Regions from separate parts of the Homo sapiens genome. Here region 2 is linked to region 1. Evidence: promoter capture Hi-C in 16 types of primary human blood cells and fetal thymus (Javierre and others, 2016). All regions are on one chromosome and are shown on one strand. The core of a region is centred on a gene start or on the middle of the fragment in contact, and the rest is flanking DNA. Distances in the headings are between cores, read along the strand shown. Region 1 holds the start of ADRB2 (adrenoceptor beta 2). Region 2 has its middle 37 kb from the start of ADRB2.

Region 1 (6,232 bases), core at 987-3,486:
AGAGCAGGCAGAACTGATTTGGGGCACAAGTGTCAGGAGAGATGCAGCTTTGCAGCAGCAGACTCAAAGGCAAATGAAAGGGTTAAGCAATCTGTGCATGTCATTCTTGTATCATTCTACATTAAGTCATGGGCAGTAATTACAAGTAGTTACCTGCGGTTTCCAGTGGGGGAGGCAACAGCACTCCAGTCAAGGGGTTTTGGAGAAACAGGTGCAATGAAGGCATGGTCAAACAATTTATTTACTGTAAACTTTAGACTTTGCTCGGGAAAACAACTGAAGCTGCTCCTCAAATCCCTGCCTAAAATACCCCGTGTGAGCAAATAAGAGGAGTGGGGGAAGAGTCCATGTTCACAGCTGAAAGGTCCGAGATACTCAAAATCCTCAAGTCCAAGGGTGTAGGAAGGAAAATCTCCTTCAGATACAAATTACCAGCAGCAATATATTACCCCTAATACTTGAATAGTGAGGTAGATACATGGAAAAGTCATGAAAATATAGCAGACTCAGGTCCTCTAGGACTAAAGCTCTTTAGACATAAACTTACAAATTCCATGCAAAGAGGAACTGAACTGTACAAATAACAAATAATCACTCAAATAAGTTTTCTCTCTTTTTACAGCTTAAAAAAATAAAAAAGGCAGAAGGATGCCCTTCCTTCTGCATATCTCTATACAATTTTACAATTTTATTCTAAGTTTATTACCCTCAAGTTAAATAGTCTGTTTAGTGTTCTGTTGGGGGGGGGGGTCTTTAAAAGTAGAAAAACTGCTTTACAGCAGTGAGTCATTTGTACTACAATTCCTCCCTTGTGAATCAATGTTATCGCTAGGCACAGTACCTTGATGGCCCACAAAGTCTTCCGTGCCTGGGAGGTCTTCACACAGCAGTTTATTTTCTTTCTCCTGTTCCACGTGATATCCACTCTGCTCCCCTGTGTTGCCGTTGCTGGAGTAGCCATTCCCATAGGCCTTCAAAGAAGACCTGCGCAGGCACAGAAGCTCCTGGAAGGCAATCCTGAAATCTGGGCTCCGGCAGTAGATAAGGGGATTGAAACCAGAATTGACATAGCCTATCCAATTTAGGAGGATGTAAACTTCCTTACGGATGAGGTTATCCTGGATCACATGCACAATGTTAACGATGAAGAAGGGCAGCCAGCAGAGGGTGAAAGTGCCCATGATGATGCCTAACGTCTTGAGGGCTTTGTGCTCCTTCAAGCAGAACTTGGAAGATCTGCGGAGTCCATGCCCCGTCCGCCCATCCTGCTCCACCTGGCTAAGGTTCTGGACATGGAAGCGGCCCTCAGATTTGTCAATCTTCTGGAGCTGCCTTTTGGCCTCCTGAAAGACCCTGGAGTAGACGAAGACCATGATCACCAGGGGAACGTAGAAGGACACGATGGAAGAGGCAATGGCATAGGCTTGGTTCGTGAAGAAGTCACAGCAGGTCTCATTGGCATAGCAGTTGATGGCTTCCTGGTGGGTGGCCCGGTACCAGTGCATCTGAATGGGCAAGAAGGAGGTAAGGCCTGACACAATCCACACCATCAGAATGATCACCCGGGCCTTATTCTTGGTCAGCAGGCTCTGGTACTTGAAAGGTGAAGTAATGGCAAAGTAGCGATCCACTGCGATCACGCACAGGGTCTCAATGCTGGCCGTGACGCACAGCACATCAATGGAAGTCCAAAACTCGCACCAGAAGTTGCCAAAAGTCCACATTTTCATAAGAATATGGGCGGCCCCAAAGGGCACCACTGCCAGGCCCATGACCAGATCAGCACAGGCCAGTGAAGTGATGAAGTAGTTGGTGACCGTCTGCAGACGCTCGAACTTGGCAATGGCTGTGATGACCAGCACATTGCCAAACACGATGGCCAGGACGATGAGAGACATGACGATGCCCATGCCCACCACCCACACCTCGTCCCTTTCCTGCGTGACGTCGTGGTCCGGCGCATGGCTTCCATTGGGTGCCAGCAAGAAGGCGCTGCCGTTCCCGGGTTGCCCCATGGCGCGCAGTCTGGCAGGTGAGCGCACTGGCTGGGGGCGCCTCAGCGGGCGGACCCACGGCGGGGCTCTGCGGGCCGCGAGCGGACGCCTGGAAGCCTCATTCAGCGGCTGTGGTGTGGGTGTGGTGGGGACTCGTCCTGCACACTCAGCTTGTCGGGTGCTAGGGGCTCGCGGTGCCTGCCAGTTCCAGCCCGTGCTCTGAAGAAGCCGCTTCGCAGTGCGTTCTGCCCGTTATGTGCACAGGACTTTAGGGGAACTGCCCTCGCCGTGACGTACGGGAACTTTCGGCCAATGGCACGCCGGCAGCCGCGAAGGGGCGAGGCACTCCTCCCCTTTCCCTCCCCTCCCCTCGCCCTCCTTCTCCTGGGGCTGGCCCGGGCGGGGCCCAACTGCTCCCTGGAGGGCGGGCCACCACTGCTTCCCGGCTACCCTGGCTGGCCCCAGAGGGCTAAAGCTGGAGGTGGTGTCCTTACCAGCCAACCCGGGAGCTTTTGGCTCTTCTGTGGCCGCTACCTGCCTGCCCTGGGCGCCTGCGCGGCTTGAGGTCTCAAGGCAGAGGGCAGCACACCGGCACTGCCCCACATTCGGAAGGAAACGAGAGTGCCCACCGAGGCACGCACATACAGGCACAAATACACCCTGGCAGACATGCTCAGACTTATACCGAACCACAGCCATAGACACTGAGACACACCCTCCCAGCTCACCGACATGCACACTCGCGCGCGCTCTCACACAGAAGCCATCCGGCACAAAGTCACCCCTGTCCAACACAGAAACGCGGCCAGAAACAAACACAGAAGCACCCAGAAGCACAAAGACATGGTGACACACACAGAAAGTAAACACACGCTGGCTTGGAGGCATCCAGAGCGACACAGACACGGATGTCTCCATCTGGGTACTCCGAACTTGCCTCACCCGAGCACTGATAATGCTCCCCTCCCAACATACACCCGGTAACCCAGTGTATTCCCTTTCAAACATTTGGCAAGAGCACAGGAGGTGACTTCAACAGCTGCTGATTTCCTCAGCACACTCGCTGTCAAGTACTTTAGGTGCCCTCCTTAGGAATTTGCAGGCATGAAGACAGTTTTACCCTTTGGATTTTATCTGGAGCGGGGGTATGCAAGTATGTATTTTGGGACAGAGAGAGAAAGTTGTGTGCTTTTGTTTTAATTTTTTTGTTGTTTTGTTTTTAACTCTTGAGAGTGTGGCATCACTCACTCATTATCTGTTGAACTGGAGATGCAATGAGAATTCAAACAATTTCTTCAGTAAACCCAATGAAACTAAAAAAAATCCTTTCATCTGCTGGATAGTTTGTTAATCTTTCGGGTTGTGCCATGTGAAATTGCCACCATCTGGCGTCTGTGACTTACCAAAATGGCAAATTCATATGGTTCAGAGTATTAAGAATGTCTTAACATTAAGAACATTTTGAAGCTATAGAAAGCAAAAGATCCTGGCCAATATGGTGTAACTCTTGTCTCTACTAAAAATACAAAAATTAGCCAGGTGTGGTGGCACGTACCTGTAGTCCCAGCTACTCGGGAGGCTGAGACAGGAGAATCTCTTGAACCCGGGAGGTGAAGGTTGCAGTGAGCCGAGATCACGTCACTGCGCTCCAGCCTGGGTGACAGAACAAGACTCCATCTCAAAACAAAACAAAACAAAAAACACAAGATAATTCTCCCTTAAGAAAAAGAAAAAAGTAAGACCAAATCTCAAAAGTAAGATCTTTGTTCATGAAATACTATCCTTTCCATCTGGCATGTGACTTTACTGCTAAAGTGAAATTAATTTTCAGGGTTTGATTTCCCATGTATTAGTGGTGTCTTTGAAAAACTGAAAGTATTTCATGAAGTGTAACTAAACGTACTTTGTAGATTACATAATAACATAACAATGGTTAACATTTATGGACCATTCTGCTATTTGCTTTTCATGCATTATTCTATTTAATCCTTCCCACAGTCCCATGGGGGTGGGGACTATTTTTAGCTTAATTCACAAATGAGGTTCAAAGAGGAAAATGGCTTGCCCAGGGGCAATGGCTGGGCAGTGCCAGAATCTGGATTTGACCCAGGTCTGCCTGAGTCCAAGACCCATCTTTTAATCTTTTCAATGTATTGCATAATTACATGCAGACAGGAGTGATGGATAGGGAGGAAGGGCTACAACTGGAACTGGAATACCCAGGTTCCAGATTCACCAAACTTGGAGCTTTCTAGTTCATTTTTTTTTTTTTTAAGAGAAATCACGAAGTACCTGATTTCCATTGTCTCTAAAGGGGCATAAAGTCACTTCCATTGGGGTAAGCAAGAATTGAATGATATAGTAAGAAATATGAAAATGCTTTTGCTCATATAAGTGTCACACAAGTGTAGTTTGTAAGCGAAGTTTACATAAATTACTTAGTGGTTTAGAATATGTTGTTAGTCTTCTCTACTAGAACAATAAAATACTTTAGGGCAAAAGTAAGTTGGGTGTTTACTCTGGAAGCAAAGCTCAGAAACAGAATTTAACCTACATATCCCCTTTAACATCCTTCATAGCAGAAACTGACTTTTTGCAAGACAGATGCCTTAGAAAACAAGTATTTCCCATAAAATCCACAAATATGAATTAAAGATCTATTATATTCACATAGTTTTCAAAATACACTCACCTCATATTTGTGTTTTCCAAAATTGGCTGTGGCATGATGCATTTTAGGAAGAGGCAGTATTTATTATGCAACAACGTTTCTTTAAATATGCATCTACTCAAATTGTGGAACTAAACCATTTAAAACCTCCTTCCTGTTTGTGAAGCTATGGCATAAATAAGCATATTGTTTAACCTTCCTATAATAAGAAAAGAACAAAGAAAACCCCTTTAAGACAAATATTAACTGATCATGTATTTAGATATACACGTAAGTCACTTAAAAGTTTAACTGAATATTTTGGGAAACTCCTTTTTTAAAACCCACAAATACTAAATCAAGAAGGACTGGCTAGCCATATGCAGAAAACTGAAACTGGACCCCTTCCTTACACCTTATACAAGAATTAACTCAAGATGAATTAAAGACTTAAACGTAAGACCTAAAACCATAAAAACCCTAGAAGAAAATCTAGGCAATAACATCCAGGACATAGGCATGGGCAAAGACTTCATGACTAAAACATCAAAAGCAATGGCAACAAAAGCCAAAATTGACAAATGGGATCTAATTAAACTAAAGAGTTTCTGCACAGCAAAATAAACTATCATCAGGGTGAACAGGCAACCTACAGAAAGGGGGAAAAATTTTGCAATCTATCCATCTGACAAAGGGCTAATATCCAGAATCTACAAAGAACTTAAACAAATTTACAAGAAAAAACAAACAGCCCCATGAAAAAGTGGGCAAAGGATATGAACAGACACTTCTCAAAAGAAGACATTAATGCAGCCAACAAACATATGAAGAAAAGATCATCAGCACTGGTTATTAGTGAAATGCAAATCAAAACCACAATGAAATACCATCTCACACCAGATACAATGGCGATCATTAACACATCAGGAAACAGACCGGGCGCAGTGGCTCATGCCTGTAATCCTAGCACTTTGGGAGGCTGAGGTGGGTGGATCACCTGAGGTCAGGACTTCGAGAGCAGCCTGACCAACATGGTGAAACTTCGTCTCTAATAAAAATACAAAAATTAGCCAGAAGTTGTGGCATGCCTGTAGTCTGACCTACTCTGGGGGCTGAAACAGGAGAATCGCTTGAACCTGGGAGGTGGAGGTTGCAGTGAGCCGAGATTGTGCCACTGCACTCCATCCGGGGTGACACAGTGAGACTCCGTCTCAAAAAAAAAACAGGAAGTCAGGAAACAACAGATGCTGGAAAGGATGTGGAGAAATAGGAACACTTTTACACTGTTGGTAGGAATGTAAATTAGTTCAAACATTGTGGAAGACAGTGTGGCAATCCCTCAAGGATCTAGAACAAGAAATACCATTTGACCCAGCAATCCCATTACCTGGTATATACCCTAAGGATTATAAATCATTCTACTATAAAGACACATGGACATGTATGTTTATTGCAGCACTGTTCACAATAGCAAAGACTTGGAACCAACCCAAATGCCCATCAAGAATAGACTTGATAAAGAAAATGTGGCACATATACACCATGGAATACTGTGCAGCCATAAAAAAGGATGACTTCATGTCTTTTG
Region 2 (6,893 bases), core at 2,370-4,869, 37 kb after region 1:
GGGGCCAGAGAAAGTCGTGTGAGGTGAACCCTGGAGACCCACAGTAAGGCTCATGTCCTCCTCGCCGTGGCAGCTCTTTCAAGTTCTAGGAAGGAGGTTTCATGTCTCATACCTCAGGATGCATGTGGCTGTTTCTTCGGCTGCACATGGCTGTTTCCTGGGTGGATAACACTCTGCTTTGGGGCCTGCTGAGGGTGCAGTGAGTTGTGGTGTTCTGGAAAAGTGTGCACCGTAGGTTCCTGAAAGTCAGGCCAGGCCTAGGTTCAAAGCTCAGCTTCTCCTCTCATTAGCTGTGGAGCAGCACCTACTTCAGAAGAAATTTGTTAGAATTATATACGATTTCTAACATAGGCTGCCACAACTTACCTAGCATATATATTATAGCTTCACCATGTAAATGGCTATACCAAATACATTTTTAGAAAAGACTCAAATCATGGCTATTGGTTATTGATTTGAAAAGAATTGTGTTCTAAAAAACTCTATATAAACTATAAAGCTGTAGGCATTAAGTAGATATATATCACTATTATTTCTTGTTATGAGGCAAGTAATGGTTTTATACTAGACCCAGTTCATTGGGTTAGCATTTTGCTTGTCCTTTCGGCATGTCTCTGATTCTTTTTTCACTGAATGACACTTAGCAGTTTACACAAAGTGCTTTTCACTTATATTATCTCACTTCGTCCTTAGAGCAAACCTATCAGGTAGATGCTCTAATTATCCCCATATTACAAATGAAGAAGACCGAGGCTACTACACAGAAAATGGTTGCCTCCAGGCCACGTGGGATTTATGCTTCTGAAATCTGTTGGTTTTTGTTGTTGTTGTTTATCTGACAAATCCCCTGCCAACCCTCCACAGAACTGTTGTGGTGATTAAATCACAGAGGTCGCTGTGCCTTTGAGGTAGGAGACTGGAAGCTTGCCTCTGCTGTATCACCTTGGCCATGTGAAAAATGCCACAGTGGGGTGTGGGTTTGGGAACCAAGGGTATGGAGCAGAGGAAACCAAGACAACTTGGCTTGAATCCCGGCTCTGCCAACTCAGACAAGTCACCTAACCTCTCCCAAACTTCATTTCCAGTCACTTACCATCTCTGATTCTTAGCTTCTAGATACATTGAATAATTGTCTTTACCAGTGGGGTTGTTATGAGGATATAAGAGGATAGTATGTCTGGCATTGATCCTAGTTTAATGTATACTGAATTAATTACATATTACATTGCCTTTTATTTCATAGTACCTACCACTGATGGATAAACCACCTATTTGTCTTTTATGCAAGGGGATCCCCTCTCATTCAGCTTGTTGATAGATGTAGTGAAACCTCCTTAAGTCATGAGGAGCTTAGTCTAGTGGTTAGAGAGCAGAACTGAGTCACAAAGTCTATTTCCCAAAATGAGTCACTTTGTAGCTAGCATTTTGCTTTAGTAAGAGTCAGAGATGGAAAAAGGGGGACACATTGGTGGGGTAGGGCTGTGGATGTGGGTGGGGGATGGGACCCCTCCTTCCTGTGGTGAGCAGCTCTGGAGTCTGGCTTGACCACCTCTCTTCCTTCAAGACCAGGTGGCGTTTCACTGGATGAATTATTTCAGTTTATCATTGCTCCTGATGTTTACATGTTTCCAGTTTCTTTTTACTACTCCAAGAATCTACTTTTGGAAACACCAGTCATACTTGCTGTGTGACCTTAGCCAGGTCTCTTCCCTCTCTGGTCCTCATTCTAATAATCTACTAAGTGGTGGGATTGTGTCTGGTGTCTCTAAAGTTCATTTCACTTTGGCGTTCAGACCTCCTAGGATGGAGGTTAGAGTTCTAGGTGTGTTCTCGTGTGCCAAGGAGAAAGAATGACCCACTCATTGCACCCATCATTTCCTGGATCCTGACACATCATCCTGTAATTTCAGACTGGCTCCTAGGGCACCTCATGCCAGCTGGTTATTTTCCATCCCACCTATAGTGCTGCCATCCTCTAAGCACAAGAAAAATGGTGCTGGCACTGGAGAGGGTTAGCATTTTTAAAGGAGCCCAAATAGCCTTAGGGCCACTTGTTTCTTCAAGGCCCCAGGTGACAGTTCAAGAGCAAGTGAGATGGTCTTAACTTCACACAAAACCATTTATCAGGGAGTCACTTCCCATTTATGGCTGGTTGTTTTGGTTACCAAACAGACGGACATACATGGAATTATATTTCTCTCTCTCTCTCGTGTTTTTAATACTGAGGTGGGGCCATTGTGGGATTAGCTTAGAGCCATGAGTCATTGGGTGCAGGGCATGTTTCTATTTGTCGTAGCATTTTATTATTATTATTGAAGCATCTATAACCGCGTGGGAACTGGAGCCCAGCTTGACCACCTCTCTTCCTTCAGATGGCCTCTATGTTCCTACATATGTCATAAGCAGCGTGAGCAACAGCTACACACTCATTCGATAATGGAGGACATGCCAGTTGAAGTTGGGTCCAGAATTCTTCATACCTGACTAGCCTGTGGGCATATAATGGTTAAAATTACTGGAGAAATTTCAATGAAGAGGGGGAAGAAAAAGAGAGAGAGCACTGATTTGGGAATCAGGAGTTTAAGCTTGATTAGTAAGCATTACATAAATTTGGGTCAATGATTTTACCCCTTTAGGAGAGTAGGGTGATTGGGGCAAAAAAAGGAAATAAAGTTTGTCTAGTTTTCCAGACCAATTAATTGGTAGTAGCTGTCTGATGCGGTGTGCTGAGAATTATGGAACATCATTTGGATCCTTGGGAAGAAGATCCTTGGAAAATGAGCAGCATTGAAGCTCTGTGAGAAGAATCTTGAGTCCCATAGTAATGTCTGCCAAGGACTCTGGCGGAGGAGAGACATAAAGGGAGTGGGGAGTGTTTGCCATTCTGGCACTAGATGATCTTCAAAGTCCCATACAGATCCAAACATTTCATGGTTAGAAATTAAAGAAAATAAACTTGCTCAAATTTGTTACCACTTCAATTTTTCTCGTTGGAACTTTGTTACCAGAGCATATAATTTTCAGACCTAGCTTCATTACTGGCAAAGGGAATATCTCTGGAACTTTTGTTATGTGCACCACAGATATTAGCGCTGCTTAAAAGTTCTAAGTAAGAACTATAAGAACTCCAAGTCGTCATAAAAGAGATGTCTTCTACAATTGTTAGGGGGCTGAACATAGGATGGTTGAACAGTTTGTGCAGTTTTGGAAAAATTGTGTTCCATGTAACTTACTGTTTTTATACTATAAACTGCAAAAACAACCTCCCACCTCCTCGTCCCTTCAGCTTCTTCCAGATCTGTGCTCATATTTGGTGCATGTGTTTAAAAGGCTAAGAAATACTGCCAGCCATAAAGTGTAGGCAGTTCTTCAAGGAGAGTAAATGATGTTTGGATGCAGGGAGAGGTAGCTGGCTCAACAGAAGGAAATGTAGGAGTCTTTGTTGAACACAGTCTCCAATAAACCAACAGGATTTTGGGGCTTCTAAAAAGCTCATCTAATGTTCAGCTAAATTAAGAAGTTCCATGAGTGTAAAATCCCCCCATACTCTAGTCTAGCGGGTCCAGCCTTGGACAATTATATTCAGGCCTGAGCATCACATTATCAGGATGGTGAGCTATTTAGAACTATGTATAGTTATGCACAATTGGAAGATTTAAGAGAGTCAGGATTCCATATGGGTGTCTCTCATTTCTATTGTCTCTGTTCAGCCCTGTTTCCTCCTTCAGCAGATGGGTTTCTTCCATAATGACATAGGTTAGGTTCCCTGGGAAAACAAACTCTCCGATGGAGATCTGTGTGGACACCAGCTCTGAGAGAATGAAGGAAGCAAGAGGGGAAAGAGGGAGAAGTTGGGCTACAGTGCCTTCACAACAATTGCCTCATCCAATCCCATGGGGATCTCTGGAGCTGCGATAGCTCTTCAAGATTTTCCCAAATTTAAACAGAGGTATCAGGTCTTTATACCTCTATATTAACCAATTATTGGATGTGGCTGGCTGGGAAACCAAGGGAAAGGCAGCTTCCTTGTGCAGAGAAAGATTCAGCTGTGAGTCGTACTAGTGGCATTTGCGGTAGTCAGTGTCAATGCATCAGTCCTGATCTGGTGGCATATCTAGAGGCCCATCATGGGACCCACTACGATGAAGATATGACCACTAGTGGCCGTAGATTTACATTTGTCTAGCTCTATTACTTCAAAAAGAAAAGATTCTATATTCCAGCTTTAATCTTTAAAAGTCGTGGAGGAGTGCTCTGATTGAATCAGCTTGGGTCAAAAACTCTAGCCAGAAGTTAAGGAATTATGATTGAATGACTTTGAATCTTGTTGACTCTTATGGCAAGGTGGATGAAGCTGGGTAACAGAAAAGAGGTGAAGCTCTATGGTGAGGGGGCAGCCACCCAGGTGTAAACGCCCTCATCTGTCCTGGGAATGAGGGAGGTCACTGGGACTAAGTAGCATAAGAGGGCAGAAAGAGCTAGCTCAGCTCCATGGACAGGGTGTTCTCTCTTAGTAATTACAAATGCCTTCTGTTGGGGAGAAGCTCCCATAATAAGAAACATTTCAGCAGAGGTCATATGTTTCCTTCTTTCCAGTCTTCTTTAGAAAAGTTTCCCTTATTTGGATTACATCAGAATTAAATGAGAAGCTTTAAACTGATACCGATCATTGGGCTCCATTACTAGAGATGCCGATTCGATAGGTCTGGTGTGCGGCCCAGGACTCAATGTTTTAAAGACTCCTCATTTGACTTTTATATGCTGTTATGTTTGGAAACACTAGCCTATGGAGCCAATATTTTACCAAAGCTGCTCTGCTTGAATTGCTCATGCATTTGGAGCTCCAGGGGGAGTGTGGGAGGAGAGACAAAGGAATTGTGCTTACTTTCCCACCTTGTCACCCCTTATCCCAAAGGTGATCCCTGAGTCATCTCTGTAGAACAGAATTGAAGATTACTAGTCTAGATTTCCAGATTATCTTTCAACTACAAAAACTTATTGATACCGTGGATATTCCAGGTAAAATAAAGCAATAAATTTATGCATTATTCTTTGCTGTTTCAGACATCTGCTGGCATTTCTGAACTGGGATTTATTTGGTGAAAAGAAGAGGTTTATTAAACTTGTCTTTTATTTATAAATGCTTTCTCAGTTCAGCATAGGGACATAACTTATTGTGGGTCCAAGAGTAAAGAAAGAGAAGTAAGTTAACTGTGGAATCTCTGGAGTCCTGACAGGTGTTTTCTGATTCAGCAAAGGAGATAATTTGGGAGTAACTGAAGATGGTCTTCCTTTTAAAGAAAGTACATGCTTATAGAACTGCCATGTTTTGAACATGTCCCCTGCAAAGTTCAGGTGCTGCCAGTGTTGCAATTAAGAGGTGGAGACTTCATGAAATAATTAGGCCCTGGGGCTGCTCCCTCACTAATGGGATGAAGACCCTTTTAAAAGTAGAGGCTTTGCATAGGCGTTTAGCCGGCTAGCTTCTGCCCTGTGAAGACTCAGCAAGAAGGCCCTCAATGGTCATCAGAAGCCGGAGCTTTAATCTTAGACTTTCCAGCCTCCAGAACTGTGAGAAATAAATTTCTGTTCCTTATAAATTACCCAGTCTCAGATATTTTCGTTATAGCAGCAGGAATGAACTAAGACAAGAACACTGCCAAAGACACAAAAATAGAACTTTTTTGAAGCTATTAACCATGCCTATAATTTCTTTTTATTTCTGTCAATGTGCAAGCAGAGATTTTGCTCAGCTCTAATACTTGGGTTAATTTTTTCCACTTAGCATAATTTATATGTACATCTTTATGTATCCTTATGGCCTTTGTAGTTTTACAATTTTATGGCTACACAATAGTTGATTGCTTTAAGGATACCATCGTCGGCTTTATCTCACTCTAAGCTGGGGCATTTGGGTGATTTCCATTTTGCTATTAAGCATTGCATTGTGGTTTGGTACCTATCCTTGCCTGTAACTGTACTTCCAGAATCCCCAGTGCCAAAATTCCTTTCCCTGACTACAAGCTTCTCTCTCAGTTTCCTCAGTTCCCTCATATGTGATCCAATGGCCTGCCAGTCTGGCTCAACCCCCCTACTGCTTTTTCTATTCCAGCTAAGGAGCTACTGGTCACTATTACTGTGTAAAGTTTCCAGCTTTATCACATAAGTGCTCAAGAAATGTCATCTATTATGATAACAACTGAGATCAGGATATGATTATTCTTAAATTCATGTCAGTCTCTTACTCATCTTATCCAACCCTTACCCAAGAGTGTCTGGCTCACAGATCTTACAAAGATATTTGCTCAAACAGTGGATGATTTTAAGTCATTATTTTTGTCAAGTGTTCTTTTGCACTTTAAATAAGAATTTCTTCTACTTTTTTTTATTATGAAAATATTACACCATGAATTCCTGGAGGACATAACACATATTTTATCTTTTATTGTATTTCTAGTATTAGTCTGGTTTATGTCAAAGATTTATAATTTTATTCAAGTCTATTTAATGGTTTTTGCTTAGAATTATTAAGTAATTTCTTTTATTTTTTCTAGTTTTGCAATAATAGTATAAACTGTGATTAGTCACAAAGAATATATCTTAGCATATGGATAAATTCTATTTGCTTAGATTCTGTTTAGAAAGTCTCATAATAAAATAAATTACTTACCATATAAAAATTTTCTTTTTATTTTAAAACACAGATTTTGGAAGTAAATATTCAAAAAAAATTACCTGTAATACCAATTATATTTGTTGTGGTAGTAATAAGACTTATTTAAAATTTTTTTCCAATTTCTTTCTTGGTTCATTAGTGAGTTTACATCTCTTTTTCTTTGGGGGTCAATTTTGGTCATTTATATTGCTGCAAAGGCTAAGCTATGTCACTGAAA

The links. Contacts are between HindIII fragments. The CHiCAGO score rates a contact against its expected background, and 5 or more counts as called.
Region 2: a fragment that was not itself captured here is called in contact with the fragment with the promoter of ADRB2 in region 1 in 2 of 17 cell types (naive B cells and total B cells); the score reaches 5.6 in naive B cells.

Annotation. Positions count from the first base shown.
Region 1 is chr5:148,822,615-148,828,846 of GRCh38, reverse strand. ADRB2 (adrenoceptor beta 2) reads right to left here and starts at 2,236. Exons shown (of 1, transcript NM_000024.6): 1 at 224-2,236. The coding sequence starts at 2,015. The coding sequence ends at 774. RefSeq lists enhancers at 1,336-1,921, 2,778-2,937 and silencers at 1,968-2,107, 2,198-2,507. The HindIII fragment of the contact is 9,818 bases long and covers 1-6,232 here.
Region 2 is chr5:148,786,007-148,792,899 of GRCh38, reverse strand. No RefSeq gene overlaps it. Among named protein-coding and RNA genes, the nearest start is that of ADRB2, 37 kb to the left of the region's middle. The HindIII fragment of the contact is 2,064 bases long and covers 2,588-4,651 here.